Linked DNA regions of Homo sapiens: regions 1, 3, 4, 5 and 6 are each linked to region 2. Evidence: promoter capture Hi-C in 16 types of primary human blood cells and fetal thymus (Javierre and others, 2016). All regions are on one chromosome and are shown on one strand. The core of a region is centred on a gene start or on the middle of the fragment in contact, and the rest is flanking DNA. Distances in the headings are between cores, read along the strand shown.

What was found. Contacts are between HindIII fragments. The CHiCAGO score rates a contact against its expected background, and 5 or more counts as called.
Region 1: a fragment that was not itself captured here is called in contact with the fragment with the promoter of WBP11 in region 2 in 10 of 17 cell types (naive CD8 T cells, neutrophils, fetal thymus and 7 more); the score reaches 8.2 in naive CD8 T cells.
Region 3: a contact is called between a fragment that was not itself captured here and the fragment with the promoter of WBP11 in region 2, in 1 of 17 cell types (neutrophils). The highest score is 5.5, in neutrophils.
Region 4: a contact is called between a fragment that was not itself captured here and the fragment with the promoter of WBP11 in region 2, in 11 of 17 cell types (total CD8 T cells, fetal thymus, naive CD8 T cells and 8 more). The highest score is 10.3, in total CD8 T cells.
Region 5: a contact is called between a fragment that was not itself captured here and the fragment with the promoter of WBP11 in region 2, in 13 of 17 cell types (fetal thymus, total CD8 T cells, naive CD4 T cells and 10 more). The highest score is 22.4, in fetal thymus.
Region 6: a contact is called between a fragment that was not itself captured here and the fragment with the promoter of WBP11 in region 2, in 7 of 17 cell types (total CD8 T cells, naive CD8 T cells, naive CD4 T cells and 4 more). The highest score is 9.5, in total CD8 T cells.

The regions. Positions count from the first base shown.
Region 1 is chr12:15,005,731-15,008,430 of GRCh38, forward strand. It overlaps LINC01489 (long intergenic non-protein coding RNA 1489), which reads left to right. Exons shown (of 4, transcript NR_120466.1): 4 at 631-953. Among named protein-coding and RNA genes, the nearest start is that of LINC01489, 5.2 kb to the left of the region's middle. The HindIII fragment of the contact is 5,674 bases long and covers 1-2,700 here.
Region 2 is chr12:14,802,224-14,804,923 of GRCh38, forward strand. WBP11 (WW domain binding protein 11) reads right to left here and starts at 1,255. Exons shown (of 12, transcript NM_016312.3): 1 at 1,129-1,255. It overlaps C12orf60 (chromosome 12 open reading frame 60), which reads left to right and starts at 1,447. Exons shown (of 2, transcript NM_175874.4): 1 at 1,447-1,528. It overlaps SMCO3 (single-pass membrane protein with coiled-coil domains 3), which reads right to left. Exons shown (of 2, transcript NM_001013698.2): 2 at 2,427-2,700. RefSeq lists an enhancer at 1,551-1,790. The HindIII fragment of the contact is 2,157 bases long and covers 781-2,700 here.
Region 3 is chr12:14,628,333-14,631,032 of GRCh38, forward strand. GUCY2C (guanylate cyclase 2C) reads right to left here. Exons shown (of 27, transcript NM_004963.4): 20 at 314-405. Among named protein-coding and RNA genes, the nearest start is that of GUCY2C-AS1, 36 kb to the right of the region's middle. The HindIII fragment of the contact is 6,504 bases long and covers 1-2,700 here.
Region 4 is chr12:14,977,944-14,980,643 of GRCh38, forward strand. PDE6H (phosphodiesterase 6H) reads left to right here. Exons shown (of 4, transcript NM_006205.3): 2 at 29-203; 3 at 1,236-1,276. The coding sequence starts at 70. Among named protein-coding and RNA genes, the nearest start is that of PDE6H, 6.3 kb to the left of the region's middle. The HindIII fragment of the contact is 3,225 bases long and covers 1-2,700 here.
Region 5 is chr12:14,954,058-14,956,757 of GRCh38, forward strand. All of the region lies in intron 1 of ARHGDIB (Rho GDP dissociation inhibitor beta), which reads right to left. Among named protein-coding and RNA genes, the nearest start is that of ARHGDIB, 6.2 kb to the right of the region's middle. RefSeq lists an enhancer at 2,109-2,278. The HindIII fragment of the contact is 2,145 bases long and covers 213-2,357 here.
Region 6 is chr12:14,932,970-14,935,669 of GRCh38, forward strand. ERP27 (endoplasmic reticulum protein 27) reads right to left here. Exons shown (of 7, transcript NM_152321.4): 3 at 1,887-2,024. Among named protein-coding and RNA genes, the nearest start is that of ERP27, 4.2 kb to the right of the region's middle. The HindIII fragment of the contact is 931 bases long and covers 801-1,731 here.

The sequences.
Region 1 (2,700 bases), core at 101-2,600, 200 kb after region 2:
ACCAATCTTTTCTTCTACAGTGATTAATAGTAAAATTGTTGAATGAAAAATTGTTAGTTAGTGTGGGGAGATAGCATAAAGAGGAAAAGGCTGGGGAGAACTGCAATCCACTTTGAAGCCAGCCTTGAGAAATAGGAATCTCCACAGATGAAAAGGGAAGTCACGGCTCAGAGGAGGGGGCACACTGCCTGTGTTCCTTGTGCCTCCAGGAATAGAGGGGCCCCAGGGACTACAAAGAATCCCCAGGGACCTCAGTTTCTTCAGAAGTAGTAGCAAGTCACTTCAGAATGTTATGCATTATCTGTCTTTTCAGATTTTAATCATCTTTATGTTTGCTTGGTCCTCAGTTAAAAAAAAATATTTCCCACATAGGACTAATGGAATTGTCTTTCTGGGGTCATAGAGACAAGGTTGTCAGAATATCTCTTCAAGACAATAGTGTCAGTGACCACAGCTTGGCAATTCCTGAGCTAGATATAAAGGTAGCAAGAACAGCACTATTCACAATAGCAAAGACACGGAATCAGCCTAAATGCTTATCAGTGATAGACTGGATAAAGAAAATGGTGTGGATATACACCGTAGAATACTGTGCAGCCGTAAAAAGGAATGAAATCATGTCTTTTGCAGGGACATGGATGGACTTGGAAGCCATTATCCTCAGGAAACTCATGCAAGAACAGAAAACCAACCACTGCATGTTCTCACTTATAAGTGGGAGCTGAATGATGAGAACATATGGATGCATCAGGGGGAACAAGACACACTGGGGCCTGTTGGGGCATGGGAGGAGGAAGAGCATCAGGAATAATAGCTAATGGATTCTGCGCTTAAAACCTAGGTGATGGGTTGATCTATGCAGCAAACCACCAGGGCACACATTCACCTATGTAACAAACCTGTACAGCCTGCACAGGTACCCCTGAACTTAAAATTAAAGTTGAAGTAAAAATAAAAAGAAAAAGTCTGTGAACCCTTTAACCCCTGACCAAAGGGAAAAAGAATAAAAGAAGGTAGCAAAAATTAGAGGAGAGCTGACTCATAATTCTAAATGATGTAAGAATTCAAAACTAAACAATCCTAATAATTATTCTAAATAAAATAATTCTAAATAATAAGTGTAGTAACATAATAATAGCAAATATTTATTGATCTCTTATGATGTCCTACGTCCTGTTTTAGTCACTTTAATTGTATTAACTTGCTTAATCTTTATAACTTCCATCCATTTTATAAATAAAAAAACTGGCACAAATTGTCCAAATGAAATAGTTTTTTTTTTAATATAAACCCAAGAAGTTCTGTCCTCAGAGCTCGTACAGTTTATCATTACCTAAGACTACCTGCCTCTTGAGAAAAAGTGAATCTCTTCAGTTAAACTATGCAGATATTTGCTAATATTTGCTACTGTGCTTGTTCGTTTTGGGAAGGCGATTCCACATAATTTTGTCAGAACTCCTTTGTATGAAGATAGAATCCAGCCACCATCCTATCCTCATCATGACACTGTCATTACAACTAAGACATCAGAGTGGACATTCCCCTCTTTTCAAGAAACATTTTTGTCTACTGACTCTATGTGGAAGTCAAAGAGCTAACTATGCTTTATGTTCTTCATTTCATTTCCTGAAACTTTGATGTGCAGGTTAAAGACTGTTTCTATCTGAACTGTTTTATGGGAAAAGCTAGCTTGAACCTAACTACATGAACCTCTGGAGGCTGGGTAACCTGACTTTTTCACAAAGCAACTGATATTCGCATGTTGGGTTTTATTTTTAATTTGTCATGGTTCTTGGAGACTGCTCTGAATGTTCAATTATATTTTTAATTTCACTGCTGGCTTATTAGCTGATTAACTGAGCTGTTCTCATCTGAGCAGTATTAGGGTTTAGTAAGATCTTACATCATTCTACAGGAATCAATTTATAAACTTTGTTTACTTCAAGATTCTGGCTGACACATTAATTTAGCAGCAACAGAATTACAGATAGCGTTACAAAAAAGCTATTAGCTATTCTCTTAGAGATAATATTTATAAATGGAACGTAATTACAGCCTGGAAGCACACAGTTTCCAGAGCTAAAGGCAATAAAGCTACAGCAATAAAGAATTTACTATTAGCTCTCCTGGGACAAAGAGGGCTCCAGTGGAATGGGAAAGAGGTTGGGGTGAGGTATAGAGCTGGGAAGGCGAAAAAAGAAGGAAGAGAATGGGATCACAGGAGAGGCTCAGCTCTTCTAAACAGTAGTTATATTCCAGGCTGTTCTAAGAAGGCAGAGACTAGTGCCCGGGGAGACCAAGTCTCTGCTTCTACTATGGAAGATTTTTAAAAGTTGTTTCCAACCCGATGGAAACTTTCTCATGGGAATGGTTTGCTCACTGATATTTTCCCAAAAGATCTTTTCTCTTATTTTCCCACATCACTGGGTTTTTTAAAAAAATGTAATGACCGTTATCCCAAACAACTAGATAATATACAGCCTTTGTCCTTTAAGAGCAAATTTGGGTCTGTAAATATTTATTGAGCAGCTACTGTATACAAGATACTTTACTACGTATTTTGAGAGATACCAAGATAAATAAGATGTGATCCCTGCCCTTAAGAGGCACAAGATTTAGAAGGTGAGAGAAGATATGTAATACTGCAAGTACCAATACTAGCTACTCTATACCAGGCGTTACTCTCAATGCGTTGGCTAT
Region 2 (2,700 bases), core at 5-2,504:
TACATGACTTCTTCCTCTTATTCCAAAATAATGGGGCTTAATTTTTTGAAGCGCAGTCTTTCCAGTAATAAAGGCGGACAAATTTGCTTCCTTTTGCAAGTAGACACTTTTTAAAGGTAAGAAAGGGAAGATTTTGTCAGCCCAGTTTATTACAGTTAATGTCTCTTTCACCAAGTGTCCAACTGCCCCGAAAGCCAGATGTTTCAGAAAGCCAGATGTTTCACAGCTGTTCTGGTGGCAATTACTTCAAGACAGCGGTATCAAAGGCTCTGATTTTTAGCTTCCTCATCTAAAAAATGGGGACATCAATTACTTTATAACAAAGCTCTGATGATACAATGAGATTACAAATAAAATATCCTGTGATGTTTGACTCACTACTTAACTAAAATCTTTATAATGGATCCATATTCCTGGCCTAGCTACCATACACCCTGTCAAGTGGTTTCCTTCTAAGAAAAACTGGGGATGGGGGGGTTAGGGGGGTGGGAGAGCAGCAGGGAGTAGGAGGTAGGGAAGGAGGAAAACAAGCAAAATCAGTACATATACAAGCTCTCCCATCTTTGATTGCCTGCGTTTTTTGTGCTTTCCTTTCTCAAGTTTCCTCAGGCTCATGTTCTGAATCTCCTCCCCCACAAATGAAACACAACGGATACGAATTACAGAGAATTTTACGGAAGACACTGGAGCTTAAGTCTGCAGATTAGTTTTTTGTCTACAAGCGGAGGCGACTGGAAAATCAAGCCAAATAAGCGTTGGATAACTCTAAACAGCCAAAGAAGCTTCAATGGGATAGGGTCCAGGTTCACCAAAGGAGGCAACACCAGCAACTGACGAAACCATAGCGACGGCTGACCGACCATGACTCGAGGTACAAGACGTCAAACCTAAGGCTACTAATCAACGTGCGTAAGAAGCGGCCCCAACCGACCCGGGCGATGCCAACCGCGCAACCACTGGTCGCCGCGCCACCCCAGGCCCAGGAATAGCCCAGTCCGCAACAGGGAGACCTCAACCAGGGAGAGGAGGAGCGGGGCAAAGGGGCTGGGTGTCCCCCAAGCCGCTGCGCGGGACGTGGAAGGGACGAAAGAGGTGAGGAAGAGTAGTAAATCAATTCAATACACTCACACTTCTGCTGTGCTCCCAGGACTACGAGAAGCGGGTAGGGGGCGACTCCCGGCCTCTTTCACTTCGTAAAGGCCTTCAACTGGGTCTCTCGGTCAACCCCTCAGCTACCGCCATCTTGAAACCTCGCGCCCCTCCGCACTCCTCACGTCATTTCCCATTCCTCTGTCCCGCCTTCTCTTAGCGCCGCTTGACCCTGGAACCATAGAGAATACCCAAGAATTCCAGGACCAGAGTCTCTTCCGGTTCCATACAATACTCAATTGGTTGGTTGTCGGCTAAGAGCCCGCCTCATTGCGCTCATCTAGTACAATAGGAATTAGAAGAAGATAGCTGCTAACTGAGTGGCTGACGGTCCTGTCTCTCGAGTTGGAGGCATCTTGACTTAGTTGCTGGGAGCCTGGTACGTTGAGCCGTCCGAGAACGGTACATTCTGCAGATAAAGAAGCGTTCTGCGTTTTCTGTCTTTTGGAATTACCTTAGTTTTTGCATTTTTCTGTTTCTTATGACCCAAGCAGGTGCGATCCTTTAGGGGTGTCTCCGTGTGTAAACGAATACCCAGATAACATTTGCCACTGAGTTTAATCCGCTTTGTAAGCATCAGGTTATCCCATGTGAGCGCCTAGTACGTGTGGAAATTTAATAGACAGGCAGAACAGAACGTTTGTAGACCACCTGAACAAATAAATTAGCACCCGTATTAGAGTCGCAGATTGCTTATATGGGCGGTGATTTATTATTTGTTAGTAGTGTTTTGAAGAAGAAATACGGGGATACATATGCAGTCGGTTTTAAGTTATATGAGTGGCAAGGTTGATATATATTGGCTATATTCCCGACTGGTCTTTTCACCAGCCAAAAGTCCTCTATGATGTCACTCTACGTACGGGATTCTTCACTTAACTCTAGCCTTCGCCCTTTCCCTACCTTCTATCCCCTCTTTCCGTGAGTCAGCCCCCACTTATTTCCCTTAAAGGTAAGTTTAAACATTTAAAAAACTATCTTAGAGGATACGCTTGGTTATTTCTAATCTTAACCTGACTATCCCATGTAGGAAGGCTATTCTTACCACCAGTTATAAATATTTCAAAATATTGATGGAGATACATACTAATTTTTAGCAGAATCTTTAAACTGCCCTTGAAGGTATAAGATCGGTCCTATACCTAAACTTACCTTTGTGTTAGGAAATTCTTGATTTGATTTTAGACTGAATTTGAGTGTCAGAAAGCAATGACGAGATATTGTAGGTTAAAGCTGATAAACCAGGTAGTACATAAAAAAGAAAATAATCTTGAACTGCGAAGGTGAGCTAAGTTGTAATGTTTTGCAACTAGTTTTTTTTCTTTCCTAACACATTAGTGATCATAGTTTTGCAACTCGTTTTGAAAAACAATGCAAGAAGAGAAAGAGAAAACAGTGTATGTTGGAAATATTAAAGTCTTTCATGTAGCTAAAATTTTATATGTAGCTACTATTTTTAAGATATGCTGAGCAGTTTTTATTTCAATACATTTCTTGTACTTGGATGGGAGAATCAACTATAACAAACACAGTCTGGCATCAACAGCATAT
Region 3 (2,700 bases), core at 152-2,651, 170 kb before region 2:
CACTTCTAAATCCTAATTACCCACAGAAGGACCCAGAAGCTCTATTTTTAACAGACAAATTTATAATCAGCTAAAGTTTGTTTTTTAATCAGAAAAGTTTTGACCTTGAGTATGTAACTTTTCAAGTGATTATTTCCCTGGGAAAACGGTCTAATAGTCTCCATATCATTTTAATGTTATGAGGCAGTTGTTGGTTGCCACCTGGGATTTTTCACTGGAATAGACATTCTCATTCTAAGGTGCCACTGAATGTCAACTATAATTTTTTTAAAACCCTGCAATTAGTGAATAAAAGTAAACATTTCAGCAATACCCAAATATCTTGGCAAGTGTAGTCTCAATTTTTTTGAAATCTGGTCTCTTTTCTGGATCTTCCTCCCAACAGTTTTTTACAAGTAGGTACACCTGGAAGAAAAAAAAACGGGCAAATTAGCTAAGGGGATAGTAAACTAAATCAAGAGAGAATTCTTATTCTCATTGATGGGAGTGATTAAGGCAAGGAATAGTTTAAAAATATCTTCAACTCAGTGCGGACAAGAGATCCCCAGCTCTCTGGTTTCTGTCTCAGGCATGACCACCTGCATTATCTTATCCAGTTATTCCCTTGGGTGAAATTAATGAAATATGTGATACCAATTTAGATGAGGCCGGGTTGATACGGGAGACTAAGTGAATTTACAAGAGCTTGCAAGTTTTACGTTGGAGAGAGAAAAAAATAGTGAAGGTGTGGCAGGCCTCCATAACAACCGTTTTAGTACTGACTGAGTGGTTAAGTTAAATATTAAAAGCCAGTGCCCTTATACAAAGGCTGGAATGTAACAAAAGCCCACCAAGAGTTTTGCCTAGGCCTTTCCTGGGCCTTAAAACATGACAAAATAACGAAGGAATTCTTCTTAACCGGACCCATTTAGGATTAAACAACTTTTATTGGGGGTCTGAAGAAACTCCCCAGGCCTCCACAAAGAAGTTTATTGGGGGTCTGAAGGAACTCCCTAAACCTCTGTAATTTAGCAGGAGACAAGATAAGGGTAATCACTCCAGCACCTGGACTCACTTCGATTAAGTAAACTTACTGAGGCTCCAGGAGAAGGTCTTCAGGACTCAGACCTTAGTTGTAGATTAAAAGAAGTTAATCACGTATGTCTTTAAATGAATGCATACTTACATGTAGACATATAGCTTCGAAGGTATATAAGCTCTGAAAAAAAATGTAATTTTCAGGCCTTCTCCCTGTAACTGGTTACAGAAATAAAAACTCTCTTCCTCCTCAGTTCATCTGCATCTTGTTATTGGGCCACGAGAAATATCAGCCCAACCCTCAGTTTGGTGGGGGAACAAAGGCTCAGTGAATATGAGGCAAATGGCTCCAAATGGAATAAAAGCCGTACTGTCCATGGTTCTAACTTATAGCAAACAATAGTATCACCTGGGGAGCATCTGCACAATTTCTTATGCCCAGGCACCACCCTAAGTCATTCTGATTTAATATATTTTGAAGTGGTCTTAGTAGGGTTCCCAGATTTAGCAAGAAAAATAAAGGACATCAAGTTAAACTTGGATTTCAGATAAACAATAAGTAATTCCTTAGTATAAGTATGTCGCAAATATTGTATGGGCAAAGGGCAGTGGTAGATTTTTAAGCTCTTTGGTGATTATAATGCACAGCTGCAGTAGAGAAGTGACATGGAAAAAAGGGAGGTATGGAGGAAGAGGTAGGGAGACAGGAGGAAGCCCAACTGCTCATCTGCTACCACCTGTTTGCAGCTTTTTTTTTTTTAAATCAAAATGTGTGGTGAAAACCATTTGTTTTAAATAAACTTTGTTTTTCACTCCGGCTAAAAACAAGATCATAAGTGATACTAGATGCAATCCCTGTCCCTGTACTTTGTCTGAACAATTCCCTGGGAAGGAACTAGAGCCGCGGTATAGCCTGTGGTGCCAATATTCACCACTAGATGATGCTCCTGCCTTGGTAAGTCATCTGCTGACTACCTTAGAGCAGAATAGGCAGAAACAGCAAACTGGGCCGATCCTGTGCCACAGAGTGAAATACTGTCAGCCCTCTGTCTCCATGGGTTCTGCATTCGTGGATTCAACCAAATGGGAATGGAAAATGTTTGGAAAAAACAGGATGGTTTTGTCTGTGTTGAACATGTACCGACCTTTTTTTTCTTGTCATTATTCCCTAAACAATACAGTACCACAAATATTTACATAGTATTTACATCATGTTAGGGATTATAAGCAATCTAGAGATAATTTAAAGTACATAGGATAATGTATGCAGGTTATATGCACATGATATGCCATTTTATATCAGATCCTTGAGCCGCTGTGGATTTTGGTATCCACAGGGGTTCCTGGGACCAATTCCCTATGGATGGAGAGACGACTCTACTGGGTGTTTCTGGGGCATTGCTGAGTGATCTAGTTTCGACTCTGTATTCTGTTGGAATCAGTTACTTGACATGAAATTTTATTCCTCATTTCTAATTCCAGAACTGTCCAACTACACAAATGAATTAAAGATGATGCTGTTTTAGTGAATAAGGTTTTAATATTTGGATATACTCAGATTAGAAAAAAAGGGCTTGAGAAAGGATATGCTGATTGTGTGGAGGAATCCTGGAATTCGGAAAAGCAGGACGAAAGAAAGGAATGAGGAGAAGGCAGGGCTAGGAGCAGCTGTACTTCGGAAAG
Region 4 (2,700 bases), core at 27-2,526, 180 kb after region 2:
TTCTTTTTTTTATCTTTCACTGTCTAAGGAGGCTGAAAGGGAAACATCAGCCGCCCGGGGGGAGTTAAAATGAGTGACAACACTACTCTGCCTGCTCCAGCTTCAAACCAGGGTCCTACCACCCCACGCAAAGGCCCTCCCAAGTTCAAGCAGAGGCAGACTCGCCAATTCAAGAGTAAACCTCCAAAGAAAGGTGTGAAAGGGTAAGACCAAAATGAAAAGAAAAACTTTCTATTACTTTCTTTTTCCCACAAGACTGCTTTTGTTTTGGGAAATTGGTGCTCACAATATTAAACAGACTTACAAAAATTTCCACTCCATCCTCTCTTTTCCTCTGTAACTCCATCTTTGATGAATTGTGTCTTTATCCCTGGAATTCTTTCCTTCTCAACTTCCAGGTCTGTGGCCGAATTTAACATGGCAAATAGAGGCTTTTTACAATAAACTTTGACTTTGCCTTGCAGGCTTTTGATGACCACTCCTCTTTACTGAGACAACCTCTACGTTAATCTGTAACACTGAACCACTGACCATTTCCAGAAAATATAGCTTATATTTATGTCTTCCAATTTTGTATCCTCAGTTCTTTATTTTCCTCTTCCTCTCCTTGGCAAAATCCTATTGATTTTTCAACACACAGATCATATGCTAATTTCTTTTTGAAGCTACTCCTGACTCTCTTTAACAAACTATCATTACTTTCATGTTTGCATTTTGTACATTCAGCTATCATAACTTACATTATATCTTATATTTATTTATTTGTATCTATTCTCCGAGGCTAAGACCACTCAGAAAATTTGTCTGTTTTCTTCTTAACTCTCTGTGCTTAATAAAATGCCTGGTATATAATAGATGCTTAGTTAATGATTTTGAATAAGTAAACAAATGGATGAATTCATCATTTTTAATGCCTTTTGTATTGCTTTCTCATTTCAATTTTTATTATAAAAAGTGAAACTTGACTAAGTTGTCCCACTGATGGTTCTTTCTGACTCTTAATTGTTTTAGGTTAAGTTCCTACAGGAGAGAAATATCTCTCCAGTGGGATACACCAAAACCTGCCTGAGTGACATTTTCTTTGCTCCAGTTCAGGGCAAACTAAAGGAGTTTCTCACATACAAACACTTAAACCTCTCCTTCTTCCCCCTTGAATCAAGAAACTCTCCATGTGAGTGACTCCAAAATTCTTTTGCTCTAATCTCAGCTAATTTCTCCTTTATTCTTTTCCATAGATTTGGAGATGACATTCCAGGAATGGAGGGGCTAGGAACAGGTAAGCCATCCACTGATTTAAGTGAGAACTTCGCACTTGGAGTTCTGCCTTTTTATATACTTCAGGCCTCAAGGGGCAGTTGAAAGTTATGAGAAATACCCAAGGCAGAAGATCTGTGAAGACATAGAAATGTGGGGATTTAATTTACCCTCGAAATAAGTACATGTGTGCCCAGATACAAAAGCCCTAAAAGAAATCAGGGTAGGCCCAAAATTTCATAAACCTTCTTGTTTTGTCAAACAACCTTTGAGGGCATACAATGATAAATTATAGACTTTTATGGTAGAAAGATTTTCATAATTCATCTCCCCAAACTTCATTTTTCAAGGGAGAAATCTGAGACATACAGGAATTGGCAGTCTTTTGTCTGAGGCTACCAAGTGAACTATTGGAAATAAGGGTGAGGTCTGGAGATCTCTCCACTCTACCTGGCAAACCACTTCCTTACCAATTTCCTCTTTTTACACATCCTCTAGCACCCAGAGGAGGATCTTACATACTGAATGCCTGCAATATAATTTTAAAAATTGGTTACCAGATTTTTATGTATCATACAATGAATGCAATCACTGCATATTTTTTAAATTAATAGACTTTATTTCTTAGAGGAGTTTAAGACTTACAGAAAAGTTCAGCAGAAAGTAGAGTTCCTATATGTCCTCTCTACCATCTCTCTCCCCTTTTACACAGTTTCCTCTATTATTAACATCTTGTATTAGTGTGATTATATTTGATGAGCCAATGTCGATGCAGTATGTTAATTAAACTCCATAGCTTGAATTAGAGTTTTTATCCCTTGTGTTGTAAAGTTCTAAGGGTTTTGATAAATACCATGTACCCACCATTATAGTACATATTGCAGTACATATAGTATCATACAGAATAGTTTCGCTGCCCTATGCTCCACCCGGTCATCCTTCTCTCTCTCTCTAAACCCCAGACATCCACTAATGTTCTTACTGTCTCTATAGTTTTGCCTTTTCCAGAATGTCATATAGTTAGACTCATACAGTATACAGCTTTTCTGGACTAGCTTCTTTCATTTAACCATATTCATTTAAGGTTTCTCCATGTTTTTATGTGGCTTGATAGCTCATTTTTTAAAATCACGGAATGATACTCCATTGTAGGGATATACACAGTTTTTTATCCTATTGAAAGATACCTTGGTTTCTTCCAAGTTTTGCCAATAATGAATAAAATGCCCCTAAATATTTATGTGCAGGCTTTTGTGTGGACATATTTTCAACTCATCCAACACACCTTTGATAAACAGTAGCACTTGTAGTAATCAGTGTCCTTCCCAGGCAATCCTCAGTGTCTCTTTCTGCAGGCAAATACCAATCCTGGGATCTTGAATGAATTTTCCAGCCATGTTATAAAGCAAATTTTCTATTCTTTTAGATCAACTGCTTCCGTATTTT
Region 5 (2,700 bases), core at 35-2,534, 150 kb after region 2:
AACCTCTGCCTCCTGGACTCAAGCAATTGTCTTGCCTCAGCCTTCTGAGTAGCTGGGACTACGGGCACATGCCACCTGCCTGGCTAATTTTTTGTAGTTATGGTTGAGATAGGGTTTCCCCATTTTGCCCAGGCTGGTCTTGAACACCTGAGCTCAAGAGATCCACCCGCCTTGGCCTCCCAAAGTGCTGGGATTACAGGTGCCTGGGCAGAAGCTTGCTTTTTCCTGGAGCTCCACCAGATCATTGACACAACTTAGTCTCAAGCTGAGAGTCATGTCCACCTGCTCAAAGTGTTGAATATATTGAAGCAGAAGATATCAGGTGACACCTGTGTCTGAGGGCGCATGACCACAAAGCCTGGCAGAGAAGCCCAGGTGCACATGGGTGCAGGAAGTAGACCCTTAGGAGAATTCCGTGGTCATTCCGTTTGATTTTGGATAATGCTCTCTTCATTGAACTAGGCCTTGTTATGCATGCCTGGGTTTGGGTTCTGGCTTTCCTACTAACTAGCTTTTCCCCTGTTAACTGAATGTTGCAACCACTGCGGATCTGAGTTTCCTCATCTTGGGGGATGAGGGATTAGAGCACATCATCTTTAGATGATTACTTTTCTAAGGCCTCCGCATATTTCTCCTGACCTGCAGTCATGGGTCAGCTAAGTTACCATTCAGTTACCTTATTTCACCTGTGAATATGAGAGAATATCTGTCTGTGTTTTGTTATTTAAAATGTATGTGAATCCCCATGCTAAGTGAGTAGACATTAGCTGCTCTTGGCACAGAAACAAAAAAAGGGTAACTACGTGAGATGATGGATATGTTGATTTGCTTCACTAACATTTTTACTATCGATGTGTGTCCCTAAACATTATGTTGTATACCTTAAATATATGCAATAAAATTCATCTTTAAAAGGAAATTTAAAAATTAAAAAATAAAATGTATGTGAATCCCCAACAGATGCTGCATATTTTATTTTATTTTATTTTACTTATTTTTCTCCCAGACATAAAATTATTTTTCTTTCACTGAACAGGTCTTTGCATAATAAAGGGTACCATAATAGTAATAGCAAATTGTTACTGAACACTTGTGAGCCAAAAACTCAGTTAGTACGGGATAAGTGCTTGGCATGCATTATTTCATTCAGTCATCGCAATGTTGTGAGGTAGGCACAATTACATTTTACAAGTGCAAAAACTAAGACATAGAAGAAAATATTAAATATTTCAATTACACAAGCATTTAAAATTCCTTTCCTAATATCACCCTATAGACAGTGAAAAGAGTAATGGTCTGGATTCTAAAAATGAGACATTCGCAATGCATGTATTAACAAGAGATTGATATCGGGAATACATAAATACCTCCTATGAATCAATTTCTTAAAAAGTATTTATTGTATATATTTAAGATGTAAAATATGTCTGGGATACATAGATAGTGAAAAGGTTACTATAGTCAAGCAAATTAACATATCCATCATCTCACCCACTTTTTTTTGTGTGTGGCAAGAGCACCTAAAATCTACTCTTCAGCAAAACTCAAGTACAATACAATATTATTAAGCATTGTACTGCATTTTTAACGTTATTTCTGGGTAACCTCAGTTTCTCCCGAAGCCCCAGCCATAAATGGCATATACAGTTTGACAATGATTTCTCAAATTATCTGTGTGCATATTTAACCACAAACAACAATTTTCTCTTTTTATCCTCCTATTTTATGGATGTGTGTTGAAATGAGAATAGGAATTTTATGAAAATTCTACAGACTGTTTTCCAATCCCATCATCTAAAGGACAACTGATTTTCCTATTGATAATATTGATATTATTAATACAAATTATAATAGTTATCACATGTAGTGCTAAGTGCTTTCTAGAGGATTATCTCATTTAGTTCTTACAGTAACTTTGTTGGCATCATCATTCTCTTTTCCAGACCAGGAAACTAAAGTTCACGTTAAGTAACTTGCCTAAGAAGACATACCACGTGGTAGGCAGAATTAATGTCTGCGCCCAGGTTGTCTGACTTTTAGGCACTATGCTTTATTGCTTCAGTCATCTTTAAGAAGTTATAATAAAATTAGAGTTTGTTAGTCATCTTGGGAATCTACCTGGAGGTGCACAAGCAGAGGTAAATGCTTCTTTGCAAGCTCTGCAGAGACAGCTTTAACAAAGCAGGGAAGTGTCAGATAACGATGTTTCAGCGCAACTCGGTTCCTGCGTTACCTCCTGCAAGTTGCTTAACCTCACTGGGCCCCAGTTTCATCCTCTGCAAAAAGAAGCCGTGGCATGAGAGGATCTCTGAGGCCCCTTCTTAATTTAATGACTCAAATGCTCCCTAATTTAAAGAAGCTTGTGAAATGAGAAAAGAAAAGAGGAAGTAAAAGGGAGATTGGGGAGGACTCAGCCCATCAGCATAGAATCTTCTGGATGGGCTTTCCTCACCTTCCTCAGCTGCTCATCCCCTATTCTACAAAGGGCAGAGCTGAGTTTTGCTTATTTTTGACTTTGGTCCTTTGCACAGGAAAAATGAAATGGAGAATGAACAGTTATATGTTTAACCAGGTTAATGTGGACCCCATTTATTAGGCCCCAAAGCACATATCATTTTTTCACACAGGCTTGCTACTCTAGTTTTCTGTATTTTCTGCTTCACAGATGCGCATACAGATTAACTTTCACATTGGAGGCCT
Region 6 (2,700 bases), core at 16-2,515, 130 kb after region 2:
TTGAATCATGAGAGAAGTCCAGACTAGGGATAAAATATTCTAAATGTTCCGCAAGCACATAATAGTGGAATATGCAAAAGAATTGTACTTCTTAAGAAGAACATATTCATTCATTCATTCATTCATTCATTGATTCTTCATATATTCATTCTAAACAAATACTTAGTGAGCACCTACTGCACAGCAGGCACTGTTCTAGGCTCTGTGGATACACTGAACAGAACAGTCTTTGCCTTCACATAGCATGGGTTCCATGACCCAGACTGTAAAAAGTGTTGGGTCAGGCAGCATTGTAGATACAGGAAGAGAAGGTCTCAAAGAGATTATAAAAGCAGCAGGAGGATCAGGAGAAGTAGTTTCCTAGAATTCAAGGAAAGAGAGAACATTAAAAAGAAAGAAGTCATCACTAACATCATACATGACAGAAATGTTGAGTAAAATAAGACCTAAAAAGGGTTCATTGAGTTTGGCAATATGGAAGCCATGCAGACCTGGATAAATGTAGTTTTAATGGTGTGATGGGGGCATAAACTAGATAGTAGTGTCTAGTTTAGAGAAAGACAGTACAAAATACACTTAAAGAAGTTTCAATGAGAAAAGAAAGGGAAAGAAAGGATGGAAACTAGAAGGGGCACGACATTCAGTCCCGAAATACTGAAAACTTTTTCTTTTCCATCAATTTACTCTTTTTCAGTGGACTCTTGATATTCCACCAACAAGTAGAACTCAATGACCAATGAAAGCATCAGAAACCCCTATTTCTGCACATGACCTCACTATTCTTAGACACCCTGGCTTTAAGCTTTGCCTGCTTTCCATAACTGTGATATCTAATGATCACAGGATCTTCCTCTTCTTTAATTTCTGTTGCTACCTCTCTACTACAGACTCTTAATACTTCTCACATGGTCTATTTTGTCAGCCTAACAAAAGCTCCCTCTTCTCTTGCCTTTTAACCTAAAAATCCATCCTCCACCTTGCTGTCAAAATAATCTAATAAAACACATTTCTGTTCATGTTACTCCCCTGATGTAAAGGCTTTAGGGGCTTTCCAGTAACAGCCAAATTCAGGACAAACTCATTAAAGTGGTATTCTACTTTTTCCCCACAATACGATTTTAATCAAGTTTCTTTCTCTTATATTCATTTTCCCCAATGTGTACCCTGGGATCCAGTGAGATTGGCCTGTTTATTGTTTCCTGAGTTTTTTCCCGTTGGCCATGAATTCTTTAGCTTGTCTAAACTTATCTATCCTTCAAGTTTCAATTCTGTTGTCTTTTTCTTTTCTTTTTTTTCAGAATTCCCACACTGTTTCTATCCTTTGAACTGTGATAAAACTTTACCCATAGTGATTCTCTTTTTATTATAGATACTTGCATATTATATATACAATACCTACCATACTTAAAGATCTATGAGACTGGAGAATATATTTAATATGTTTTTATTATCGGTATCTTGCATAGGGCATACAGGAAGTATTTAATAAATGTTTGAAGAACATAAATGAACTCCTCAAAATATTTAATATAAAAATTTTGGAGCTCAAAGTGACCTTAGAGATAATACAGTCTAACTCTTTTATTTTATAAAGGAAAGAATTGGAGATAAAAAATGTTAAGTGACTGCCCAAAGTCATGTGGCTGTTGAGCGACAAAGCAGTACCACAAATTCCATTCCCTGGCTTTCAGTCCTGTCCTCTTTCCATTTCATTACAGTACCTGTTTGGGAAGCTTGAATTGAGTCATCATCCTTGTCAACAATGTCCCTGAATTTGGTACCATCATTAGTGTAAAAGACATAGAGTCCTTTCCAGTCTCACAAGTTTATGAGTCCACAACCCAGTGAAAATCTGGGAGAAAGCTCAAGCTACCCACCCAACTTACCAGGCGAAAGAGGCAGATGGTGTTCCCAGTGATGTTGTAGTGTGTCAGAACCTCAGAATCAGTGCTGATCCCAAATGACACGCCTGGGAATTTTTGCACCATGCTATGGAGTATGGGCACTGCTGGTATTTCTAAATCCTAAAAACAAGAGAAAAAATAATACCACAGTGGTTATTTCGAAGGGCAGAGACAAACGATAGGCAAAAGAAATATGATATGATGTTTACCAGAAATCATAGATTTGATTTACTGCCCAGTAACACATGATTTACCCCTAACAATTCAGGTTTAACTGGCAGTGACATTCTTGAATTTTCCAGGCTCTGTAAGTTAATAGGTAACCACGAAATTGTAGCTGAGCCTGAGACTCCTGTCAGGCCTTGTCATAGAGCTTGAAGTTTACTAGGGGCTGAGAGAGGCCTCAAAATCATAAAGGCCTGCCTAGTTTGGCTGCACTGTTGTAGATACACATGAGAAGCAACTCTTCTGGGAACAATTTGTTTAACGGTGAAATAGCAAACAAACTAACATAACCAACTCTATTTTTGTTTAAAGGGCATTTATTTACTCATTCCTGCATGTAGGTTAGAATAATTTTAGAGCACTGAGATAATAGGCAAAAATAGGAGTTATATAGTTTTTAAAACTAACTCTGGGATTAAAGGAAAAGTATGTAAACAACTAACTATGTAGTGCTACAGATTTATAGGTGCCTTGTGACCTGACCAAGGACAAAGAAGTTCCCAACTTCCTGAGACACTTGCTGGGGCCCAGATGCCTGTGGTTGCCGGTTATCACTTGATCCCAACTCCCT